Linked DNA regions of Homo sapiens: region 1 is linked to region 2. Evidence: promoter capture Hi-C in 16 types of primary human blood cells and fetal thymus (Javierre and others, 2016). All regions are on one chromosome and are shown on one strand. The core of a region is centred on a gene start or on the middle of the fragment in contact, and the rest is flanking DNA. Distances in the headings are between cores, read along the strand shown.

The links. The method cuts DNA at HindIII sites, captures the fragments that hold promoters and counts their contacts. A CHiCAGO score of 5 or more calls a contact.
Region 1: a fragment that was not itself captured here is called in contact with the fragment with the promoter of RNASE8 in region 2 in 1 of 17 cell types (M2 macrophages); the score reaches 5.0 in M2 macrophages.

Annotation. Positions count from the first base shown.
Region 1 is chr14:20,697,915-20,702,935 of GRCh38, forward strand. RNASE4 (ribonuclease A family member 4) reads left to right here. Exons shown (of 2, transcript NM_002937.5): 2 at 1,441-3,302. The coding sequence starts at 1,458. The coding sequence ends at 1,901. EGILA (EGFR interacting lncRNA) reads right to left here. Exons shown (of 4, transcript NR_174964.1): 2 at 1,408-1,584; 3 at 1,122-1,215. Among named protein-coding and RNA genes, the nearest start is that of EGILA, 6.5 kb to the right of the region's middle. RefSeq lists a silencer at 1,737-1,902. The HindIII fragment of the contact is 1,171 bases long and covers 2,112-3,282 here.
Region 2 is chr14:21,054,065-21,059,207 of GRCh38, forward strand. RNASE8 (ribonuclease A family member 8) reads left to right here and starts at 3,758. Exons shown (of 1, transcript NM_138331.2): 1 at 3,758-4,391. The coding sequence starts at 3,829. The coding sequence ends at 4,293. It also overlaps a transcript of NDRG2 not described here. The HindIII fragment of the contact is 6,358 bases long and covers 1,677-5,143 here.

The sequences.
Region 1 (5,021 bases), core at 1,447-3,946, 360 kb before region 2:
CGGCCAGATGGCAGCATCTGGCTAGTCAGTTGGTGAGTGAGTCCACCTCCAGTCTTGATTAAACTCTGCTGCTGGGAAGTAGCAATTCTGAGCATAAATGTCTTTGATATCCTGAATATTTTGGGTGTGGGATGAGAGAGGCAGTAGATAGTGGAAAGAGCACAGGGTGTAGACTAAGATAGGCCTGGATTCCTTTCTTTAATCTGTCAATGAAAGCAATGAATGTTCTGAAACTACATGGCAATGCTTTTTTTGTTGCCACTCTGGCTTTTTTTTTTAATGCTATAAAATATATGCCTATTTTTCACTGCCAAGAGGTGACAACACAATGATGCTGCAACCAGAGAAGACAGACAGCTACCAACAACTATTGACAAGACAGAAGGAACATCAAGAATAGATGCAAGACAAAGCAATGTATCTCCATGGCCTAGATTTTTTAGGTTATGCATAGAAACAGCAAGGAGAAGAAGACACAATCCAAGTTTTCTTTTGAGAATATTGTGCTGTTTAAATTTATTTTTTAAACATTTCTTAGCTTTTCTTATTAGTCAATTTCATAAGCCTGGGAAACATCTTTACTCTATCCATTTAATTGCATTTGTTCATTAGCTTACTCATTTCACTTATTAGTTCATTCAAACAGTAGCTATTATCAACTGTCTTCTAAGAACTGTAACTGGGTATTCTGGTTTTGCTTTTTTTTAAAAAATAGAATTAAAAGGATTTCCAAAAGGACCTGATTTTACATTAGAATTAGAATAATACATTTTAAATTAATGTATAACATATATTATTCTAGAATTAGAATAGATTTTAAATCACATTAGAATAATAGCCACATGACAAAAAAGAAAAGAAAAATAATAAAATTAATGACAAAGAAAAACAATAGTCATGTGAGAGGAAAGGCAAAGCCTAAATATTCCTCTGTCCTCTTCCTCCACCTAGATTCCCAGATGTAAGGTATTAAAAGTAGTTTGTAAACTTTCTGTGACGTATGCTGAGTCTATCCAAACTGTCGGGAATTGGAGCCTCCCGGGAACCAAACACTCCCCAAAGATCATACACCTACGGAGTTCCCCCAAGAGACACACAACTGCAGTTTCATGTAGGTTCACCTTTTCTCTCTTTTTATACTCTGTCCACACAAACCTGGCAGCCACGCAGTCAGTCCCTGCCCTGTGTCATTGTACTGGCCACAGCAACTTCTCTCTGTAAATGAGAAAGGTCTTGCTTTCAGAAAAGATCATGTTTGCAAACTACTCACTCTTGAGGAAGAAGGGTGGGAAAAGTAGCAGAGATGAGTGGGGAGATGGTGCATATAAGAAGGAGGAAAGAGGAGACTATGGAGTCAGGATGCCGGCTTGCTATTCTCAACACCTTTTTCCAGTGCCCAGTTCTTACCTTATTTCTCCTGCCCCTTGCTTTCTTTTCTAGGCACCTCTAAGATACTGATGGCTCTGCAGAGGACCCATTCATTGCTTCTGCTTTTGCTGCTGACCCTGCTGGGGCTGGGGCTGGTCCAGCCCTCCTATGGCCAGGATGGCATGTACCAGCGATTCCTGCGGCAACACGTGCACCCTGAGGAGACAGGTGGCAGTGATCGCTACTGCAACTTGATGATGCAAAGACGGAAGATGACTTTGTATCACTGCAAGCGCTTCAACACCTTCATCCATGAAGATATCTGGAACATTCGTAGTATCTGCAGCACCACCAATATCCAATGCAAGAACGGCAAGATGAACTGCCATGAGGGTGTAGTGAAGGTCACAGATTGCAGGGACACAGGAAGTTCCAGGGCACCCAACTGCAGATATCGGGCCATAGCGAGCACTAGACGTGTTGTCATTGCCTGTGAGGGTAACCCACAGGTGCCTGTGCACTTTGACGGTTAGATGCCACCATGTAGGGATTATCGCGAGTGGTTGACCTTACACTTACTCCTTAAATAGCAGTGAGTAATGCATTTGAGCTGTCCCAGGCTCTGTCTCCTCAGCTCATTTCCTACTCTTTTTCTCTATATAACTCATTCTATTAAATACATTGCACCAAAGAGATATGGAGACATAAACCTGTAATGAATGAGGCTGGGCTTTTCTGTAATAAGCTTCCTTTTATAATACTGGTCAGCTTAGCTCTCTCAGATCCTATCCTGTGGAATTTAGTTATTATGTGTATTTATGTAGTATTTCAAACATTTCAAAATGCTTTCATCTATGTTTATCACATTTTAATACCACAGCACTTATAATGATGTCACTACATATAGAAGCTCAAAGTTAAGGGATTTGCTGAAGACTGTAAAGTTAATGGAAGAATTGAGACAAAAATCCAGTGTAGCTGGCCACTTATCCAGGGCTTTTTCTACTTCATCACAAGGAATGTTTTGAAAGTGTCTGCTTTTTTTATCCTTAAAATTCACCTGTCAGGGAGGCATTAAAAATTTGGAAATGTATGCCAGCAAAATGTGAGCTCTGTATTTTTTGGCATTCTTATGTTTGGGTTTAATAAGATTAAGAAAATGATACTGGGAATTTTCTTTTTCCTGAAACTTTGAATCACCCTAGTAAGTCAAAGTACTAAAAAATGTACTAGATCATTAAGACTTATGTGCTCTTACTGATTGAAAGATTTTTTATGTTTTCCTTGTAATAAAGGACCTAAACCGAAGGTACCTGAGAAGACTGTGCTATGGTATTATTTTTTTTCTCTGACTTTTAAATTCTTGTTTAGTTTATAAACATGCATGCACCTTAATAACCTCATAAACTCTGGTCAAAGACTAATGCCTATCAGATCCATGACCACAACACAGAAGATTTGTCTCATTTACTCCAGAGAGAATGATTCCTCTCAAAGACAATTCTCACAGCTCTTCCTTCTCCCTTAGAATATTTAGAAGCAAATTAGGGAGCTGTCAGGTCTCTGAGCCCAAGCCTGCACGTATACATCCAGATGGCCTGAAGCAACTGAAGAACCACAAAAGAAGTGAAAATAACCAATTCCTGCCTTAACTGATGACATTCCACCACTGTGATTTGTTCCTGCCCCACCTTAACTGATCAATTAGCCTTGTGACATTCCTTCTCCTGGACAATTAGACTCAGGAGCTCCCCACCAGAGCACCTTGTGACCCCCGCCCCTGCCCGCTAGAGAATAACCCACTTTGACCGTAATTTCCCACTACCAACCCAAATCCTATAAAACTGCCCCACCCCATCTCCCTTTGCTGACTCCTTTTTTGGACTCAGTCTGCCTGCACCCAGGTGATTAAAAAGCTTTATTGCTCACACAAAGCCTGTTTGGTGGTCTCTTCACATGGACGCGTGTGGCATTTAGTGCCGAAGACCCAGAACAGGGGGACTCCTTCAGGAGACTGGTCCCCTGTCCTCGCCTTCACTCCATGAGGAGGTCCACCTATGACCTCAGGTCCTCAGACCAACCAGCCCAAGGAACATCTCACCCATTTCAAATTGGGTAAGCGGTCTTTTCACTGTCTTCTCCAGCCTCTCTTGCTACCCTTCAATCTCCCTGTCCTTCCAATTCCAGTTCTCTTTCCTCTCTAGTAGAGACAAAGGAGACGCATTTTATCCATGGACCCAAAACTCAGACACCAGTCACGGACTCGGGAAGATAGTCTTCCCTTGGCGTCTGATCATTGTGGGGATGCCTGCCCTGATCATTCACCCACATTCCATTGGTGTCTGATCACTGTGGGGACACCTGCCATGGTCATTCACCCACATTCCCTTGATGGCAAGTCAATCGCGGGATGCCTGCTTTGGCTGATCGTCCACGTTATAGCCCAGGGCTGCTCACCACCCCCTTTGCTGTGTCTCTACCTTTCTCTTTAAACTTACTTCTTCACTGTGGGCAACCTTCCACCCTGCATTCCCCCTTCTTCTCCCTTAGCCTGTGTTCTCAAGAACTTAAAACCTCTTCAACTCACACCTGACCTAAAACCTAAATGCCTTATTTTCTTCTGCAATACCGTTTGGCCCTAATACAAACCCAACAATGGTTCCAAATGGCCAGAAAACGGCACTTTTGATTTCTCCATCTTACAAGATCTAGATGATTTTTGTCGAAAAATGGGGAAATAGTCTGAGGTGCCTGACATCCAGGCATTCTTTTACACATCAGTCCCTCCCTAGTCTCTGCTCCCAATGTGACTTGTCCCAAATCTTTCTTCTTTCTCTCCTGTCTGTTTCTTCAGTCTCCACCCCAAGCTCTGAGTCCTTTGAATTCTCCTTTTCTACAGACCCATCTGACCTCTTCCCTCCTCCCCAGGCTGCTGCTCACCAGCCAGGCCAAGCCAGGTCCTGATTCTTCCTCACCCTCTGCTCCCCCACCCTATAATCCTTTTATCACCTCCCCTCCTCACACCTGGTCCAGCTTACAGTTTCATTCCATGACTAGCTCTCCCCAACCTGCCCAAAAATTTCCTCTTAAAGAGGTGGCTGGAGCTGAAGGTACAGTCAAGGTTAATGCTCCTTTTTCTTTATCCAACCTCTCCCAAATGAGTTAGCATTTAGGCTTTTTTTTTTTTTTTTTTATCAAATATAAAAACCCAGCCCAGTTCATGGCCCATTTGGCAACAACCCTTAGACACTTTACTGTCCTAGACCCAGAGAGGCCAGAAGGCCGTCTTATTCTCAATATGCATTTTATTAGTCAATCCACTCCTGACATTAACAAAGCTCCAAAAATTAGATTCTGGCCCTCAAACCCCACAACAGGACTTAATTAACCTCGCCTTCAAGGTGTACAATAATAGAGAAGAGGCAGCCAAGTGGCAACATATTTCTGAGTTGCAATTACTTGCCTCCACTATGAGAGAAGCCCCAGCCACATCTCCAGCACACAAGAACTTCAAAATGCCTGAACTGCAGTGGCCAGGTGTTCCTCCAGGACCTCCTCCCCCAGGATCTTGCTTCAAGTGCTAGAAATCTGGCCACTGGGCCAAGGAATGCCTGCAGCCCGGGATTCCTCCTAAGCCATGTCCCATCTGTGCG
Region 2 (5,143 bases), core at 2,508-5,007:
CCATATAAAAACAAGATCAGTAAAAATTGGCTCTGAAATGAAACAAAGCTGCAGCACGGCCTGACACAGTGTACAGAGTGTAAATTTGAGGATCAGATCGAAGTGGCTCTGTCACTCACTCCTGTATGGCTGTGGGCAAGTTACTCAACTCCCACACACACAGACATTGTTTCCTTACCTACAAAATAAGCATAAATATTTCTATCTCATGGGGATGCTGCAAGATAAGTAAGGAGATGTTTTTAGATAGATTGATCACAAAAGAGATAATACACACACACACACACACACACACACACTGCTGAGTTCAGTGTCAAGAACATAGTAGACATTAGAGATGGCATTCAGTCTTCTTCTCTTGTGATCTGGTGGGAACAGGCATTGACCAATCAGAGCCAAGACTGGCTCATCTCCATACCAGTGCACACAAGGTGACTCTTAGCCCACAAGAGGAGGAAATGTTTAGGCCAGCCCTGGGCTCCTGCTGCCATCCCCACTCTGTCACTTCAAAGGCTGGCAGCTTGGGTCTGTAACTGTTAATGAATTATCAATAAACAGGAAAGCAGTGTGGCAAGGAAAGATAACATGAACTTTGGAGCCAAACAGAACCGAATTTCAAATCCCGGCCCTGCCACTTACTAAATCTGTGGATCTTAACCTGCCAGAACCTTAGTTTCCTTTTCTGTAAAATTGGGATAATATTGTGGAACACACAATACAGTTTATATATAAAGTTGTACACAAAGCACAATGCTTTGGCTCGTGAAGCACCTTTTAAAATGAGGTTCTTTACTTTCCACCAAGAACCTAGAACTGTACCGAGCACATTTTAGATGCTAATTAAATGATGCTTGGTAGCATCTCTTTCCTCCTGCTGCTGCTGTACAGCCCTGTGCTGACCTGAACCATAAGCAATGCGGTGTATGTTATCCTGGCTGCCTTTAGTAGGTAGTAAATAGTATACTCTATCCTACCATACTCCTAAGCATTTTACCACTCGCCACACTACTTTGAATATGTAAGATATATATTCCTCATTCAATATTGTTTCTGCAGAAATGTATCTGAAAAGATTTTTAAAGTTTTACTTTTGAAATTATTTGACTGCAAGTAAGTTGTGACTGGCACTGTTCCTTCTGCATTCAAGGTTTCCAGGTACTTAGGAATTCCTACAAAATTAGAAAACTAACCAAAGATTGTTTTCCAATGTAGTGAGATTTTTATGTGTCCCAAATTTCAAAATAAGTGAAATCAACTTCATGCTACTTTAGTAGCAGGTAAGTAAATATTTTTTATTTGATTCTATATTTGACTTTTCCTGTATTGGAGCCAATATATTTTTCCCAGTCTCAAATGTTGTAGGCCCTTAGAAACCTCCCAGATTCTAAGCACTGAGCCTCAAGTGCTTAATGGATAAAACAGCCCTGAGGCTGTGGCAGTGGGGAAAACTCATGATGAATGACTAGGATCAAAACACACAATCAAAGGAACCCCATTCCCAGGCCTCCCTGAGTGAGGCTGGCCAGCTGCATGGGCCAGTACCTACTTCAGGGAAAGCATGTTTGCAACGTATTTGGAATCAGAGCTTGCAAAGTCTCTGGTCAGTCATCTTGGTTGGCAGTAAACGTTTAGGCCAGCCCTGGGCTCCTGCTACCATCCCCACCCTCTCATTTCAAAGCTTGGCAGCTTGGGTCTGTAACCGTTAATGAATAATCACTTGGTAACCCTTCCATCCCAATGGGAGAGGCTCAGCTGAGGGCCTGCAAGAGAGAAATGACTTCCTGGGACAGGGTGGTGGGAGGGAGTAGTGCAGAGGGAGGGAAAGATTTGTTCCCTGCTGCCCAAGTCAACTGCTTTCTGGGTAATGTTTTCCTGGGTTCAAAAATCAATGTTTTGTTTGCTTTGTGGGGAGGAGTGCACGAAGGGATCCCTGCTGTGGAAAAGGTGAGTTCTACTGGCAAACAAGGCTCCTCCACCATGTTTGCCTGAGATGACAAACATCTCAGAATTTTTACATTCAGAAATGCAGATACTAGGAGCCTCGGCAAATTTTGCCATTTTGGAGAGCACTTTATCCCAAAGGTGGAGAAGTTACACAAATCCCAGAGGTTGAGAGACTGAGGGGAGTCCAACACACTATCGCCGACCTGAGAAACTGCAGTGCAGAGCCAGTTCCCCAACTGCAGTCATTTGCTTTAACCCTTGACAATTTTCACAATATCTGCTTACCACCCCTATTATTTTAATAATACGCTAAATATATATTTACTCATTTATTTTAAATAATTCTTTTACAATGAAACTGAGTAATGCCATCTTTCAAAGAATACTAGTGTTACTTTGTAAACAGAAGTAAAAATAAATGTAATGAATATCATCTAACTTTTAAAAATTCTATCCAGATATTGTTTTCAGCTGAAAACTCAGCCTGAGGCCTGTTGTCGTTATTGAAAAGGAGGAGAAACAAACACGGGAAAGTGTAAAAGAATTCACCTTCTTGCTCTAAGAGGAGACTTTCTCTTAAATGTTTTTAGAAGGGTCTGAAGAAATTAAGGCAATGAGCACACACCACCTAAAACCACAAACAGAGACACACTCACTCTGCTCTGCTCCTATGGGAAACTCTTTCCTCTTTCCTTTTTAGCTTGGCGCCAGCCCAAAGGGATGGGTTGAACATCAGGAAGCTCTTAGCCCCAGCTCTGCCACTCACTCGGCGGCCTTGGAAAGAGTACTTGCCCTTGCAGGAACTCAAGCTCCCTCATCTTTAAAATGAGGGAGTCAACTGAGATGAACTCTAAGGTCCCTTCCAGCCCTGACCCTCTATCCTTCCAAGACATTCTCCAGCAGGGCAAAATGTCAGGCATGGAAAGAACCCAACTCGCCATGCTGCTTTGACAGCTGGAGCTGCGATCCCTTCACTAGGAGTGATCATTTTTTCTAACTTCAGTGAGAAACTGGGCCACAGAATGGGGAGGAATGCATTTGACTCCACGACCTTAATAACAACTCTTTCAGGGACACCTAAGCTAGTCCAGCAGAGTGGGGTATTGACCTTTCACATGTTTTTCTTCAAGATTTAGTTTCTCTTAACCGGGCGCGGTGGCTCACGCCTGTAATCCCAGCACTTTGGGAGGCTGAGGTGGGTGGATCACCTGAGGTCAGGAGTTCAAGACCAGCCTGACCAACATGGAGAAACCCAGTCTCTACTAAAAATAGAAAAAATTAGCTAGGCGTGGTGGTGCATGCCTGTAATCCCAGCTACTTGGGAGGCTGAGGCAGGAGAATTGCTTGAACCTGGGAGGCAGAGGTTGCAGTGAGCCAAGATCGCGCCATTGCACTCCAGCATGGGCGACAAGAGCGAAACTCCATCTCAAAAAAAAAAAAAGATTTAGTTTCTCTTTGTGATTTCTCACAGTCTCAGAAAAGATACCTGGGAGTGTGGGAAGAATAGGAGTTAGGGAACTTGAGAGGTCCTGGTTAAAATCTTGTATTTGACACGCTCTAGCTGTGGGATAATAGGAATTTTCTTAACTTTCCTGAGCCTCATTTTATTCATATATATATATATATATGTGAGAAGGTAATCATACCCATAAAACTATTGTGAGAGGTAAAGAAGGTAAGTGTTTATTAGAGGCACAAAAAGGCACATTATCTGCTGGTACTAAACAATAGAATGCCAGGGGTGTTCAATATCTTAGGCTGCACATTGCCCTGCAATAACTGGCTTAGGGTATGAAATTCTTAGAAGGACTAACAAGACTCCCCCATGATGACCTATTCATCCACCTACCTCCTCACTCTGTTCCACTGTCTCCCTTAAGAGAGATGGCACCGGCCAGAGCAGGATGCTGCCCCCTGCTGCTGCTGCTTCTGGGGCTGTGGGTGGCAGAGGTCCTAGTCAGAGCCAAGCCCAAGGACATGACATCATCTCAGTGGTTTAAAACTCAGCATGTGCAGCCCAGCCCTCAAGCATGCAACTCAGCCATGAGCATCATCAATAAGTACACAGAACGGTGCAAAGACCTCAACACCTTCCTGCACGAGCCCTTCTCCAGTGTGGCCATCACCTGCCAGACCCCCAACATAGCCTGCAAGAATAGCTGTAAAAACTGCCACCAGAGCCACGGGCCCATGTCCCTGACCATGGGTGAGCTCACCTCAGGGAAGTACCCAAACTGCAGGTACAAAGAGAAGCACCTGAACACACCTTACATAGTGGCCTGTGACCCTCCACAACAGGGTGACCCAGGGTACCCACTTGTTCCTGTGCACTTGGATAAAGTTGTCTAAGCCCTGGTGCCCACGTTCCACCTCACACTCTGCAGACTGTATGCTGCTGCTTTTCCTCCCTCCAGTTCGTTATTAATCCTTGCTCCCCACTGCAAATGCCATTTCCCTCCCACACACTCAACCTCACATACTCTTGGTTTCTTAGGGAGTTTTACAGACGCTCCAAACGATGAAAGAAGAGGGCAGATTCTCTTCAGCCTTTCATTGTAGCTTACTTTGCAGCCCTTCCAGAGTCAAGCACTCAGGATCCCCACAAGGATGGATCTGGGTTTGGTGAGGCCTGTGGCTCACCAAAGACCCTCTTAAAGAAAAAGAATATAAAATTACAAACGTAAATAAGTCAGATCCTTGGAAGGGCTGTGGCTGGACAGTCCAGGGAGATCCCAGACAGGGGTAATTATCTAAGGAAGGAAGGAAGGGGAATCTCTGCTGTGTTCCCTGTGTTGGGCAAAGAAATGCATCTGATCTTGCTGTAATAAAGACTCTGCTGTTGCTGATGGAGTGTGTGTTACTGTCTTGGGGTAAGTGGAGAGGTTTGGAGCTCCAATTCCAAGGCCCTGAAAAGGCCCTGAAACACTTACTTCTGTGAGGCATCAGCTCCACCTGCCTTGCAGGCCGGAGGGAGAGCAGCACCCTGAGCAGGCACAGTCTGGGAAGCTGGCTTGATTCTGTCCTCCAGCCCCTTGAGGGCTCTCTGGTGGCCCCCTCTCATGTGAAGGGGTAGAGTGACAGGAAGGACAGGCTGAGCCCTGGGATGCCAGTCAGGTCTGAGGCCTGACCCCCTTGTGTGTGCGCAAGACCAGAGTTCATGTTTCATCGACGTGACCCAGAGCAGGACCCTCAGCGTTCT